Regions from separate parts of the Homo sapiens genome. Here regions 2 and 3 are each linked to region 1. The links are contacts of gene promoters, found by promoter capture Hi-C in blood cells and fetal thymus (Javierre and others, 2016). All regions are on one chromosome and are shown on one strand. Each heading gives the region's core, a stretch centred on a gene start or on the middle of the fragment in contact. The rest is flanking DNA. Distances are from core to core; before and after follow the strand shown. Region 1 holds the start of RCVRN (recoverin). Region 2 has its middle 34 kb from the start of GAS7. Region 3 has its middle 50 kb from the start of GAS7.

Region 1 (4,624 bases), core at 1,833-4,332:
GCCCTGCATTGTTTATGCCACTCTGAAGACTTAGTCCCTGTCCCAGGCCACCCAGAGACCCCACAGCCAATCCGAGGGAGCTTTCTCTGCAGGCTGTGCCAAGATAACAATGAGAGAGACACATGCCTGCCAGAATGGGAGGCCCGAGCTGAGCATTGAGGATAAGCCCATGGACCACAAGCTGCATGCTCTGCTGTTTTATTTATGATTTCTCCTAATAACTGTGGAAGATTTTTGTGCATTTGTCATCATGCAAATGAAAGCATGATTGCCAATGCACACAAAGTTATTAACATCTAAACAATAGTCTCTACTAACAGGAATGGAATTAGAAGAATAAGGTAAGTGGCAGGGGCAGGGGGACTGAAAAAGAATAAATTAAAAAAAAATCAAATGAAGGAAATTAGAACTGGTATAATAGGAAAGAAATGGAAACAACCTAATGTCCAAAAACATAGGAATGTTCAATAATTTCCACATTTCCATAAGCCAGAATTCCAAGCAGCTATTAAAAGAGTTTTGGAAGAGGTTGGGTGCGGAAGCTCACGCCTGTAATCCCAGCACTTTGGGAGGCCGAGGCGGGCAGATCACCTGAGGTCAGGAGTTCGAGACCAGCCTGGCCAACATGGTGAAACCCCGTCTCTACTAAAATACAAAAATTAGCTGGGCAGGTGCCTGTAATCCCAGCTACTCGTGAGGCTGAGGCAGGAGAATTGCTCAAACCCAGGAGGGGGAGGTTGCAGTGAGCTGAGATCACGCCACTGCACTCCAGCCTGGGCGACAAGAGCAAAACTCTGTCTGAAGAAAAAAAAAAAGTGTTTTGGAAGAATATGTAATGATATGGAAAGCACTCATGATAAAAGAGTAACTGAAAAATGTATGATAAAAAATCGTATGTGAATATGTCATAGCTTTAACATTATTTAAAATTATATAGGTAAAAGACTGAAAAGGTATATACTGATATACTAAGAAAAGTTTTCCCTGGATGTTGGAATTAGAGGCAATTGTTAGTCTCTTTTGCCTAGGTTTCTAAATTTCATGAGTTACTTTTATATCAGATAAACCATTTTCAAGACACCTACGAGGTTAGTGGAAAAGTAATTATGGTTTTTGCCATTACTTTCACAACAAAGGATCTGACAGGAGGACAGTATGGACAGGGGAGAAGGCGTGTTGGGAACCATATGGAAGCCTGTGCGCCTCACAGGGAAACTGTCAGGAGCCGGGGAGCCACGCCGCGCGTGGGAAGCGGGGGCTCATGCGTGGTGCCATGATCCGCCCCGCGCTGGGGAGAACATGAGGACTAGAACTCAGAGTTCATGCCCCCAACTTTGACCTCTTTCTACTTTATATTAGAAGCATATTGTGTGTTTAGAATGAACAGTGATTCAACTTGAATGTGTACTGCTGAAAATTTCAAAGGACATTTTAATAAAGGAAGGAAGAAACAAAGGATGGAGAGAAAGAAAAAATGTAAATATAGTCACGTGTCGCTCAGAGACAGGAATACATTCCGAGAAACACATCTTAAGGCAACTTCTATGTGGGAACATCATAGAGCATCCTTGCACGAACACAGATGGTAGAGCCGACTACATCCCTGAGCTCCATGGTCCAGCCTTTTGCTCCTAGGCTACAAACCTGTGCAGCACGTGACTGTCCTGAATGTTGCAGGCAGTTGTCACACGATGGTAAGTATTTGTGCATCTAAACATAGCTAAACATAGAAATCATGCAGTAAAAATACAGTATAAAGATAAAAAATGGGCCGGGCACAGTGGCTCATGCCTGTAAATCCCAGCACTTTGGGAGGCTGAGGCTGGCGGATCGCTGGAGGTCGGGAGTTTGAGACCAGCCTGACCAACATGGTGAAACCCCGTCTCTACTAAAAATACAAAAATTAGCTAGGCATAGTGGTGCACACCTGTAATCCCAGCTACTCGGGAGGCTGAGACAGGAGAATTGCTTGAACTCGGGAGGCAGAGGTTGCAGTGAGCCAAGATCGCACTATTGCACTCCAGCTCTGGGCTACAGAGTGAGACTCCATCTCAAAAAAATAAAAAATAAAAAACCAAGATACAAAATGGTAGACCTGTCTAGGGCACTCACCATGAGTGGAGCTTGCAGGACTGGGAGTTGCTCTGGGTGAGTCAGTGAGTGAGTAGTGAGTGAATGTGAAGAACTAGGACATTACCGTACACAACTACAGACTTTACGGATACACTTAGGCTACACTAAATGCATTTGAAAAATAAAGTAACTGTGCTATGACGTCACTAGGCAGTAGGAATTTTTCAGCTCCATTACAATCTTATGGGACCACAGTGGTCTATATCGTCCGTTGTTGACCCAAACATCGTGAAGCCAAGCATAACATGGCTGTATTAGGAAACACTCAGATTCTGCTCCGGGAAGACAACGAAGCTGTGGGCAAGTGCCCACCCCTCTATCAATATCAGCATCTCGGAGCACCACGCTCTCAGAGCCAGTGGCCCGCATCCCCCGCTCCACCCACAGATCCACTCCCTCTGCAGCAGCTGCAGCAGGGGACCCCCAGCCCGGAGCGACCCCGGCACCGCCCAGCCAGAAGGGGAGAGGGGAGACTGACCATGACGATCTCCAGCACTTCATTCTTGCTGATGGTCCCGTTACCGTCCACGTCGTAGAGGGAGAAGGCCCACTCCAGCTTCTGGTTGGTCTTGCCCGCGGTGGTCATGTGCAGGGCGATGACGTACTCCTTGAAGTCCAGGGTGCCGTCGAGGTTGGAATCGAAGCTGCGGAACACATGCTGGGCGTAGGCCTTGGGGTCGGTGTCGGGGAAGAACTTGGCGTAGATGCTCTGGAACTGCTGCTGGGTGATGCGGCCGGTGGGACAGTCCTTCAGGAAGGACTGGTACCAGGAGCACAGCTCCTCCTCCGAGAACTTGGTGTTCAGCTGCAGCTCCTCCAGGATCTCCTTGGACAGGGCCCCACTTTTGCTGTTCCCCATGAGTGAGGAAGAGTGGGCAGCGGCTGGGGAGTCGCTGGGTGGGTGGGACGTGCGTGGTCCCCTGGCCGCAGGCTGGGCTCAAGGCTGGTGTGAGCTGAAGACCGAGATGCTGGTGGCTTAGGAGGATTTGCGACCAGTTCTTCGCAATCCTTGAAGGGAGGAGGGGCCCAGGAGCTTTGTGGAGGGCGGGAGCGGTGGGGGGGGGTGCTCCCAGAACCCTAGTGAGATTAAAATAAAGAGCCCAGGGCAGGCAGGCAATTCATCTCGGCCTCCCGGGACGATACTAGAACAGGACAGGAGGTTGGAACCCTCAGAGCTGGGGCCTCCGGCACCCCCAGCCCCAGCCCTCTAACAGCAGCCATGTTCCCTGTTTCTCTTCCTCACTAACTCTGAGCATCTCGGGGCGGGGCTGGCATCTCATATCAAGCCCTAGAATGCAATGGTTAGGAGCACAGACTCTGGGGCCAGCATGGGTTCAAGTCCCAGCTTGGCTACTTAACTAGCTGTGTGGCCCCAGGCTTGTTTCTTCACCTCTTTCCACCTGGGACACTCTTCTAAACCTTCACTGCAGTCATGTCTCTGCTTAAATGTCACCTGCTCAGCCAGGCCTATACTGACCCTCTATCTATAATAGCACAACCCCCACCATCATCGGCACGCTGCATGTCCCCTCACCGGAATGAAAGCTCCGTGAAGGATGGGATTTTGTCTGTGTTGTTCCCGGATGCATTTCCATTGCCAGAACCTGATAGGCTTGGGCCCCCAGCAAGTCTTTCTTGAATAAATGGGCATCATAGCATCTACCACACTGTCATTGTGAGGCTGATGTGAGTCAATATGTCTGACACACTTAGAAACTGGCACATGGCTAATGCTAAACACTCGTTTTGTTATTGTCCATCAGTCACAGGGAGTGAAGGTGAACTGCCTGAAGGGACCAGCAGGGGGCAGCCAGGCCTGTGTCACCTCGGGAAGGGGCTGCCAGAGAACGTGGTCACATGGGATGGTGAGATTTTTGGGTTTTTTTAAATTATTCAAGAGAAATCCAAAAATCAGAATTTTTCTTGCAATTTCCACACTTTTCAACTTTGGCAATTAATTCAAAATTTTAATGGTGGCTCACGTCTGTAATCCCAGCACTTTGGGAGACTGAGTGGGGAGATTACAAGGTTAGGAGTTCGAGACCAGCCTGGCCAACATGGTGAAACCCTGTCTCTACTAAAAATACAAAAAATTAGCCGGGCATGGTGGCAGGTGACTGTAATCCCAGCTACTTGGGAGGCTGAGGCTGGAGAATCGCTTGAACCCGGGAGGCAGAGGTTGCAGTGAGCCGAGATTGCACCATTGCACTCCAGCCTGGGTGACAAGTGTGAGACTCCATCTCAAAAAAACAAAACAAAAACAAAAACAAAAACAAAACAAAACATGGTGTGGGCCAAACACAATCTATCTGTGGGTCCATGGCAGGCTGCAGGGTGTCCGTCTGCAGTGGACTTGGAGTGAGCAGGCAAGAAAACGTGTTTGCTGAGTGAATGGATAAATAACTGAGTGGTCAGAGACGGAGCTGTGCAAAGGCAGGCTTCGCGTCTGTGCAGCTCAGCGGGGAGTATCAAGCACGAGGAAGCAACCTAG
Region 2 (4,361 bases), core at 1,097-3,596, 330 kb after region 1:
CAGCCATGTGGAACTGTGAGTCCATTAAACCTCTTTCTTTTATAAAGTACCCAGTCTTGGGTATGTCTTTATTAGCAGCATAAGAACAGATTAATACAGTCCTAACATATAATATTTCTTTGATTATTCAATAATCAGTGGCACATCTCTTTCAGTAGGTGATAGGATCCATGAGGACAGGCAGAATTGCCCACTATGGTATCCCCTGTGCCTGATTCAGTACCTGGCACTAGTATGTGCTCAATGAGCAATTTGTAAAATGAATCAATAAATAATTTGTTGCATTGAATTGCATTAGGTTGTCAGCACCCATAGAGCACTTCTGGTAATGGTAGCTCAATGATAGGAACTATGGGAGAGGTAAAAAAAATGAATAATCAATAAACAGATAGGAAAGGTTAAGTCTTGTGAAGGCATGTATTCCAATATGGCCACCAAGGGCTCTCCCATCCTAGGAGCACTTGTTACAACGTAACCTTTACATTCCTTCCATCAAGAGGTGCCGTCTATGTCCCTTTCCTTTGAAATTAAGTGAGCTTTTGCACCTGTTTTGACCAATAAAATATAGCAGAAAGGTCATAGCAAACAATGCCACTGTCCCCTTACTTTGGAATACTCCCTTCTGAAGTTTGCGGCCATGGAGGCAGTCTGGCTGCCCACAAGTCCGCCATGCTGTGAGGAAGCTCAAACTCCCCTAGATAGAGAAGCCCTGAACCTACTTGAAGAAAGATGTCCTGCCAGTCTTCAGCTGCTTCAACCACTGTCTGGTTGCAATTAAATGAGACCACTGGCCAGAACTGTCCAGATGAGACTGTCCCAAATTCCTGACCCACAGAAACAATGACAGATAGTGAAATGACTTTTGTTGCATTAAGCCACTGAATTTGGGGGTGATTTGTTACACAGCAAGAAATAACTAGAATAGATTTGAATTCAAAGAATGTATGATCTAGTTAGAGGCCGGGCATGATGGCTCATGCTTGTAATCCCAGTGCTTTGAGAGGCCAAGGTGGGAGGATCACTTAAGTCCAGAGCTCAAGACCATCCTGGTCAATATAGAGAGACCCTGCCTCTATTTTTGAAAAAAAAATTGAGTTGGAAAGTCAAGACGTGAGTGAATTTAACCAAGTTTATTGGATGGTGCCAGCAGTCTCTGGATGGCAAAGGTCCAAATTGTATGGTTCTATCTATGCGAATACCATAAATACACTCACCCATCCATCCCCATCTTCTCTCTCCCATTCATCTCTATCCATGCTCCCTTACCTCTGCCCCTAATCTTGCCTTGGTCCTTCAAATCCTTGGTTCCCATCATATGTCTGCAATTCACTGCAGGGCTGACACTTTCTCAAACTCTCAACCTGATAGAGCCTTAAATTAATAAGCTACCTGGTCTTCCCAGCTTCACTTTGGATGTACTGCAGAGTGGAGTCAAGGGTGTTTAGATCACAAACCCCTGGTTCTGGCTCCTGGATCTTGACAACAGTCATCACATAAATTTTCTAACAAGAGACACATCCGCATAATTAAACCAAAGATATCACAGACGCAGACACATGCAAAGAGGGCAGGGCTGGGAGAAGGGAACCATTCATCAAAACCTCATCATAAATTCAAGTTGAAGGACTGAAAAGGAACAAAGCATGGATACTTCCCAAACCCAGCAGCTGGACCTCTCACTGAAATCCTGAAATCACTGCAGCCCAACTCAACATCTGGGAGAGAATAAAATATAATAAAGACTTAAAAAGAACAGACGCTGGGCAATTACCAGTTGAAGTGCGGATGGGGAATATAAATTCTCTGAGCGCCTAAAGACAGAAATATACATTGGCACATGGGTCTTAGGGCTGTGAATTTCATCCAGCTGTAGCCACCATTCTTTCTCACTATGACTAATATTTCGTTAGCAAATGCACTTTCTAAGCAATGAACATAATTATGTTCAGGTTGACATGACCTAAATTAGAGTGGCTGAATTTTTATTTATTCGACATCAGCAGTGAAGTAAAATGTCCAAAAGGATTTTGATGCTGAATCAAAGTACCAAAGAATGTTGGGAATAACATTCTATTTAGAATTGGAAGATCTGGGTAGAAGTCCTATCTAGTCCATGTATACATTGTGTGAGACTGGGCAATATTGAATCTCCTAAATGTGGACACAAATTTGAAATGGAGATAAAACCTACCTCCAGAGTTTTAATGAGGATTAAATTAGGTAATATATCTTCAAAACTCCTGCCACATTGCTTTCGGCTTCTTCACCTGTAAAATTGGAGCAATACTTGCATAAGAGGGTTAGGTTGTAAGGATTCCTTAGCTTATGATACTAATTAAGATACTCTTGGTTGTAACAGACAGTGGGATTTATAGTTGCTTTAAAATATAATGTATTGGCTGAGCACGGTAGCTCATGCCTGTAATACCAGCACTTTGGGAGGCCAAGGTGGGCGGATCACCTGAGGTCAGGAGTTGGAGACCAGCCTGGCCAACATGGTGAAATCCAGTCCCTAACACACACACACACACACACACACACACACACACACACACACACACACAAAATTAGCTGGGGCATGGTGTCACATGCCTGTAGTCTCAGCTACTCGGGAGGCCGAGTATGAGAATCTCTTGAACCTAGGAGGTAGAGGTTGCAGTGAGCCGAAATGGCACCAGTGCACTCCAGCCTAGGCAACAGAGTAAGACTGTCTCAAAATAATAATAAAGTAAAATAAAATGTATTGAGTTGTTCTAGCTAATGAGAAAGCAGAAGGTAAGTGATTCCAGGGTAGGATCAATGACATCAGTGATGAGTAATATCAAGGCATTGAGTCTAAGTCTCTGCAACCCATGTGGCTCCTCCCTCATGGTGGCAAGATGGTTGCATCAGCTCCAAGCATCAGGTCTTCACACCAGAGTGCCCAAAGCATGAAAGGAGAAGAGTTTTTTCCACACATCTCTCTTATCAAGGAGGAGAACATTGCTCCCCCGACACATTTTCTGTTACATCTCATTGGCCAGAACTGAACCATGGCAATTTTTTGCTGGGAAGGAGCCTGGGGAAATAAATACCCAGCATTTCCAAAAGCTAGCATGAAGAGCCACCTCTAGCAGCAGGGAAAAAGGGGGAGAAAAATGACATTGGGGTGGGAAACACACTGGGTCTGCCCCTGTAATGGATGTGGAGTGTCTACCGTGATGGGCCCCATGGTCAATGGAGTAACATTCATTGAGCACCAGCTGTGTGCCAGCTATGGTTTGTAGACCTTTAGAGGGATCACCTCATTTCATCCTCTCAACAATCCTTGAGAAAGTACTACTATTAGCCTTGTTTTATTTTTTTGAGACTGAGTTTCGCTCTCGTTGCCCAGGCTGGAGTGCAGTGGTGTGATCTCGGCTCACTGCAACCTCCGCCTCCCAGGTTCAAGCGATTCTCCTGCCTCAGCCTCCCGAGTAGATGGGATTACAGGCATGCACCACCACAGCCAGCTAATTTTGTATTTTTGGTAGAGACGGGGTTTCTCCTTGTTGGTCTCAAACGTCTGACCTCAGGTGATCCACCTGCCTTGGCCTCCCGAAGTGTTGGGATTACAGGCATGAGCCACCGCACCCAGCCAGCCTTGTTTTATAGACAAGGAAATTGAGGCACAGAAAATTTCATCCACTTTAGCTCAAGGCTATGCAACTAGTGAGTTGGCACAAAGATATCCACACCTGAGTCAGAGCAGGTTGAGTCTTCAAACTAGGTCAAAGGTGGATGCCTATCTCACTTCTCAGGTCTTGTTTGTTCTGATTCTCACCTCGAACTCAAGTGGATTTGAGTTTCTACCTGTGTATCTTAGTGATGAGTATGTTTGTGAAACATTTCCATAAAGTCATGAGATCTCCTAAACTGTTCCTAAATTTATTTACACGTTCATATTGTGATGATTGTTGTGGAGTGGAGGCCTCAAGGCTCAGGCTTACCTGGACCACAAGGTCAGTGACCTGGGCCCATATCAGGACTGATTTGTGCCCATCACTTTCCATGGGGTCTGACAGATTTTCTCCAGAGAGGCGGGTGGTAAGCTGTGGTCACAACCAGGGTTTATCTTATGCTTTGTTAACTGGGCAGGGAGGCTACTGGAAGGAAGTCCCCAAGTATGGACCGCAGGGCACTTGGGAGAGAATACGAGCCTGGCACAAGGAGCTGGGCTCAGCCACACGGCCTGAAGGTTTTGGGTGTGGCTTGTTGGCTGTTACTTGGCCCTGTCCCTGAGGAACAGAAGCACTTTGACTGTGACCTCAGGGCCAAGGGAGTAGAGCAGTGAGGAGAGGGGGACCTTCCTAAACCTCCCTGGAGAACAAAAGCAACCTCAG
Region 3 (4,666 bases), core at 1,985-4,484, 340 kb after region 1:
AAGACTGGCTAATAATACAATGAGCGCTCATGCACCCACCACCTAGCTTGAAAAACACATTGCAGATAAAGTCTCCAGCATTTCTTTCCTGATCCCATCTTCAGCTGAGTTTTTTTTTTTTAATTTTTTTTTATTTAGACAAAGTCTCGCTCTGTCACTAGGCCAGAGTGCAGGGGCACTATCTCAGCTCACTGCAACCTCTGCCTCCCGGGTTCAAGCGATTCTCCTGCCTCAGCCTCCCAAGTAACTGGGACTACAGGCGCATGCCACCACGCCCAGCTAATTTTCATATTTTTAGTAGAGATAGGGTTTCATCATGTTGGCCAGGATGGTTTCGATCTCCTGACCTCGTGATCCGCCCACCTTGGCCTCCCAAAGTGCTGCGATTATAGGTGTGAGCCACTGCGCCTGGCCACTTCTGCTGAGTTTTTAACTTTATTTTGTTTTGCTCTGTTTTGTTTGTTTGTTTCTTTTTTCCTTTCTTTTCTTTCTTTTTTTTTTGAGATGGAGTGTCGCTCTGTCGCTCTGTCTCCCAGGCTGGAGTGCAGTGACGCAATTTCAGCTCACTGCAACCTCCGACTCCTGGGTTCAAATGATTTTCCTGCCTCAGCCTCCCAAGTAGCTGGGACTACAGGTGCCAGCCACCATGCCCAGCTAATTTTTGTATTTTCAGTAGAGACGGGGTTTTGCCAAGTTGGCCAGGCTGGTCTCGAACTCCTGACCTCAGGTGATCCACCCGCCTTGGTCTCCCAAAGTGCTGGGGTTACAGGCATGAGCCACCACGCCCAGCCTGTTTGTTTGTTTCTTAAGGGCACTTGGAAAGGGCAAAGTGGAAACAGGACATACATCATTGAACCTCTCATATGTCCTCAATATTTTGCCAGGTACTGTGATGTATACATATGGAAGAAGCAGCCACAGCCAGGTAGAAAACAACAACAACAACAACAACAACAAAACCCCAACCTTTGTGCTTTCCCAGAATGCATTGACTCTTTCCTGAGACCAGCTGGGGCATGCTCAGAGGGGCACCATGTTTCTGGATGTGAGGTGATGGAATATTTGCACTGAGTCTCTAGCCATTACCCACTTCTGCTGACTCATGTGCGGATAAATGGCACAGTCCAAATAAATTTGAAATATGTGTCTGGAAGTTTTAAAGTTCTGAGAAGGACATTGAAGGATTTGGGGCCGTTCCATCTTTTCATCTGGCTGATGGCTGCGACTTTGGGGAGAAGAGAAAAGATGTTGGGAGTGAGCAGCTGGTGAGCAAAAGATGTTGATGGTGTTGGTGAGGATTTCATTTCCTGGGCCAGAGCCCAAGATGCTAGAGTACAAGGCTACTGGCAAAACACAGAGAGTACCGCAAAGTCGGGGAAGAATGTGCTGGGCAGATTACCCAATGACATCAAAGGACACTTAAAAGATTTCTGTGGGCTACATAGTAAACAGCTGTTGTTTTTGTCTGCTCAGCATTCTTTTGCCATCTTCTTTTAATAACCTCTTTATTTCTGAAGGAAAACCAGGCATTTTCATAGTCTATGCAGCTGAAGAGGGTCGACACATCCTTTGGCTTCATGGGTGAATATGCAACTTGGTAAGAGTCTATCAAAATCTCAGTGATTTATTCAGAGGTGGACACGTGACTCAGCCTGGACCAATGAGAGTTTTCTCTGGGACTTTGCTCAAATGATTAGGAATGAGATATGCTTTCTTAGAGTTGTTACGATGATAGCTAGCGTGAGACCGAGCTCGAATGAGACTGAGAATGAAATGAATACAGCAGAAAGCTGAGTCTAATGATGGAGAGACAGAAATTCCTGAAAACATTAGGGCACTTGGATTTAGCCATGTCTGAAGCTAACCGTACCTCTTGGACTTTTTAGTTATGTGAATCTATACCTTTAAATTCTCTCTCTCCCATCAATCTGGTTTAATGTAATTTCAGTTTGGTTACTGTAATGTACAATGATAGTTGAGAAAATGTAAAACAGTCTTTGTGATTAGAAAGAAACAGGATGAGTCAGGCGCGGTGGCTTATGCCCGTAATCTCAGCACTTTGGGAGGCCGAGTCGGGTGGATCACTTGAGGTCAGGAGTTCGAGACCAGCCTGGCCAACATGGTGAAACCCCATCTCCACTAAAAATACAAAAAATTAGCTAGGTGTGGTGGTGGGTGCCTGTAGGTCCCAGCTACTCGGGAGGCTGAGGCAGGAGAATTGCTTGAACCGGGGAGGCAGAGGTTGCAGTGAGCCCAGATCATGCTACTACATTCCAGCCTTGGCAACAAGAGCAAAACTCTGTGAAAGAAAGAAAGAGAAAGAAGAAAGAAAGGAAGAAAGAAAGGAAGGAAGGAAGAAGGAAAGAAAGAAAGAAAGAGGAAAAGAAAAAAAAGAAAAGAAAGATACAGTGCCCAGTTATTCTTGGGCAAAAATAAAGGCAACAGGATGGGAACTTTATTTATGGTCTTACACATCCATCTCCCAGTGCAAAGGGTGTGGGGGAAATGGATAAGGTAAGATGTTCATACTACTGAAAGAAGAAGAAAGCTATAATTTCATTAGCATCATTGCTACTTAGGAGGGGAATCATAACTGGAAAGTGACAATGGAAGGATGTATTTTATTTGAAAGATGCAAGTCCAATAGAAAGGGAATATTGTATAGCATTATCTGTGAGGAAGTTACTAAGTGGTCTGCCTGTCAGTATGGAAAGCTTTGGGGTCAGGAATAGGGAGGACAACCACAGAAACAAGACTCCACCCAACATGGGGCCAGAGGAAGCCTGGAGAAGATGCTTTCCTAACACACATCCCCAAGCCATGAAAGAGTTTCATTAGGAATTCCAGTTATGCAGACATAAGCTGGAATTCTTCTTTTGCTAAAGTTTAGAACATCTGATAAATTATTATCTTACTTTGCTAACAGTTTCTCAGAACACGGAAGTAGCAATGGAGTAAGCTGTTCTGTTTTCCTTTCTTTTAAAAACTATATTTTTCCCTTGAACATAAAAGAAAGACATACTTCTGGTGGAAGATTCGATAATACAGTGGTGACACTCATACATCTATTCCTCAAAGATAAGCAATTGGATTTGTACTGTGTGCCGGATGTTGGCTAAGTATTTAATAAATAGGCTCATTTAATCTCTACAGCATTAAGAGGTGCATTCTTGTATGATCCTTAGTTTGTGGATAAGAAGACTGAGGTTTAGTAAAGCTAAAAAAAAATTCTCTGAGATCACAGAGCCAAGTTGGTGCTAGAGCCAGGATTTGAACTAAGCCATCTGGGCTCTTAACCACTATACTACATTCTGTATTTGTGCTTCCACCTACATAAATTCCTTGTTATAGTGTATATTTATAATTTTGTAGCCTGTTTTTCCCTTTCACTTAATTTTATAATATAGGCAATTTCCCATTTTGTCAAAAACTCTTAAATTTTAAAAATTAAAATATTTATACTTATGTAAAGTAGACTACTCTAAGGGATGCCTATGGACCTATCACAGCTTCAACAATTACCAAACAGTCTTGTTTCCTCTATCCACTCCTCACTCTATTATCTAAAGCAAATTGCAGACATTGTACCATTTTATCTGTAAATATATCAATATGTAATTTTAGTTATTCCTTAATATTCTGAGGTATCCAATCTGTGCTCGAACTTTCCAGATGTAAACATTATTGTAAATGTTATTCTAAATTTGGTTCTGAGGATACTTACGGAAGAATTGGTGGGTGATGTGGAAGTATTAGAAGCTTTGAGCCAAAGTGACCCTGTCACTTTGGAGTTTGCAGTAGCAAACAAACAGAAAACGCTGCACTGCACAATGAGGAAACCAGATTTCCAGAAGTTCAGTAGAAAGAAAGATGTACAATTCCACCTAGAACTGTATTGTTCCACGTAGTGGCACCAGTCATATGTCACTATTTACATCAAAACTAATGAAAATTAAATAACATTTAAAATTCAGTCCCTAAATAACCACATGTGGCTTGTGGCTATCATATTAGATAGTGGAGATATAAGATATTTTATTTTATTTTATTCTGTCTTTTTTCTTTTTTTGAGACAGGGTCTCGTTCTGTCGCCCACGCTGGAGTGCAGTGGCATGATCATGGTTCAATGTAGCCTCGACTTCCTGGGGCTCAAGCAATCCTCCCACCTCAGCCTCCTGAGTATATGGGACTACACAGGCATGCACCACCATGCCTGGCTAATTTTGTTTATTTTTTATAGAGATGAGATCTCACTGTGTTGCCCAGGCTGGCCCCAAACTCCTGGACTCAAGTAATTCTCCTGCTTCTGCCTCCCAAAGTGCTAGGATTACAGGCATGAGCCACCATGCCTGGCTGATATAAGATATTTTCACCATCACAAAAAGTTCCATTGAATGTAGCTGGTCTAGACTTTAAGAAGGAATAGTATTTGCAAGAGGCAGGAGATTCCTACACAAAAAATGTCTGCATTTGTGATTGTCAAAGGGCTTGAGGAGTGCAGCTGCCACTCTGATCACAGAGGCCTCTGATCAGCTTAGCATTCAAGAGGAGGTGGAGCACACAGCTCAAGTCTCATTGCTTATTTATTTATTTAACTGCTTTAATTGAACAGGCCCCACTTAGCCATGTGCCAACAAGAAGTTTGCGTTATTTTTGTAACTCACTT

The links. The method cuts DNA at HindIII sites, captures the fragments that hold promoters and counts their contacts. A CHiCAGO score of 5 or more calls a contact.
Region 2: a contact is called between a fragment that was not itself captured here and the fragment with the promoter of RCVRN in region 1, in 2 of 17 cell types (neutrophils and monocytes). The highest score is 12.2, in neutrophils.
Region 3: a fragment that was not itself captured here is called in contact with the fragment with the promoter of RCVRN in region 1 in 4 of 17 cell types (monocytes, neutrophils, M0 macrophages and 1 more); the score reaches 11.8 in monocytes.

What each region holds. Positions count from the first base shown.
Region 1 is chr17:9,902,189-9,906,812 of GRCh38, forward strand. It overlaps RCVRN (recoverin), which reads right to left and starts at 3,083. Exons shown (of 3, transcript NM_002903.3): 1 at 2,612-3,083. The coding sequence starts at 2,992. The HindIII fragment of the contact is 11,305 bases long and covers 1-4,624 here.
Region 2 is chr17:10,230,506-10,234,866 of GRCh38, forward strand. No RefSeq gene overlaps it. Among named protein-coding and RNA genes, the nearest start is that of GAS7, 34 kb to the left of the region's middle. The HindIII fragment of the contact is 8,093 bases long and covers 1-4,361 here.
Region 3 is chr17:10,246,667-10,251,332 of GRCh38, forward strand. No RefSeq gene overlaps it. Among named protein-coding and RNA genes, the nearest start is that of GAS7, 50 kb to the left of the region's middle. The HindIII fragment of the contact is 1,045 bases long and covers 2,713-3,757 here.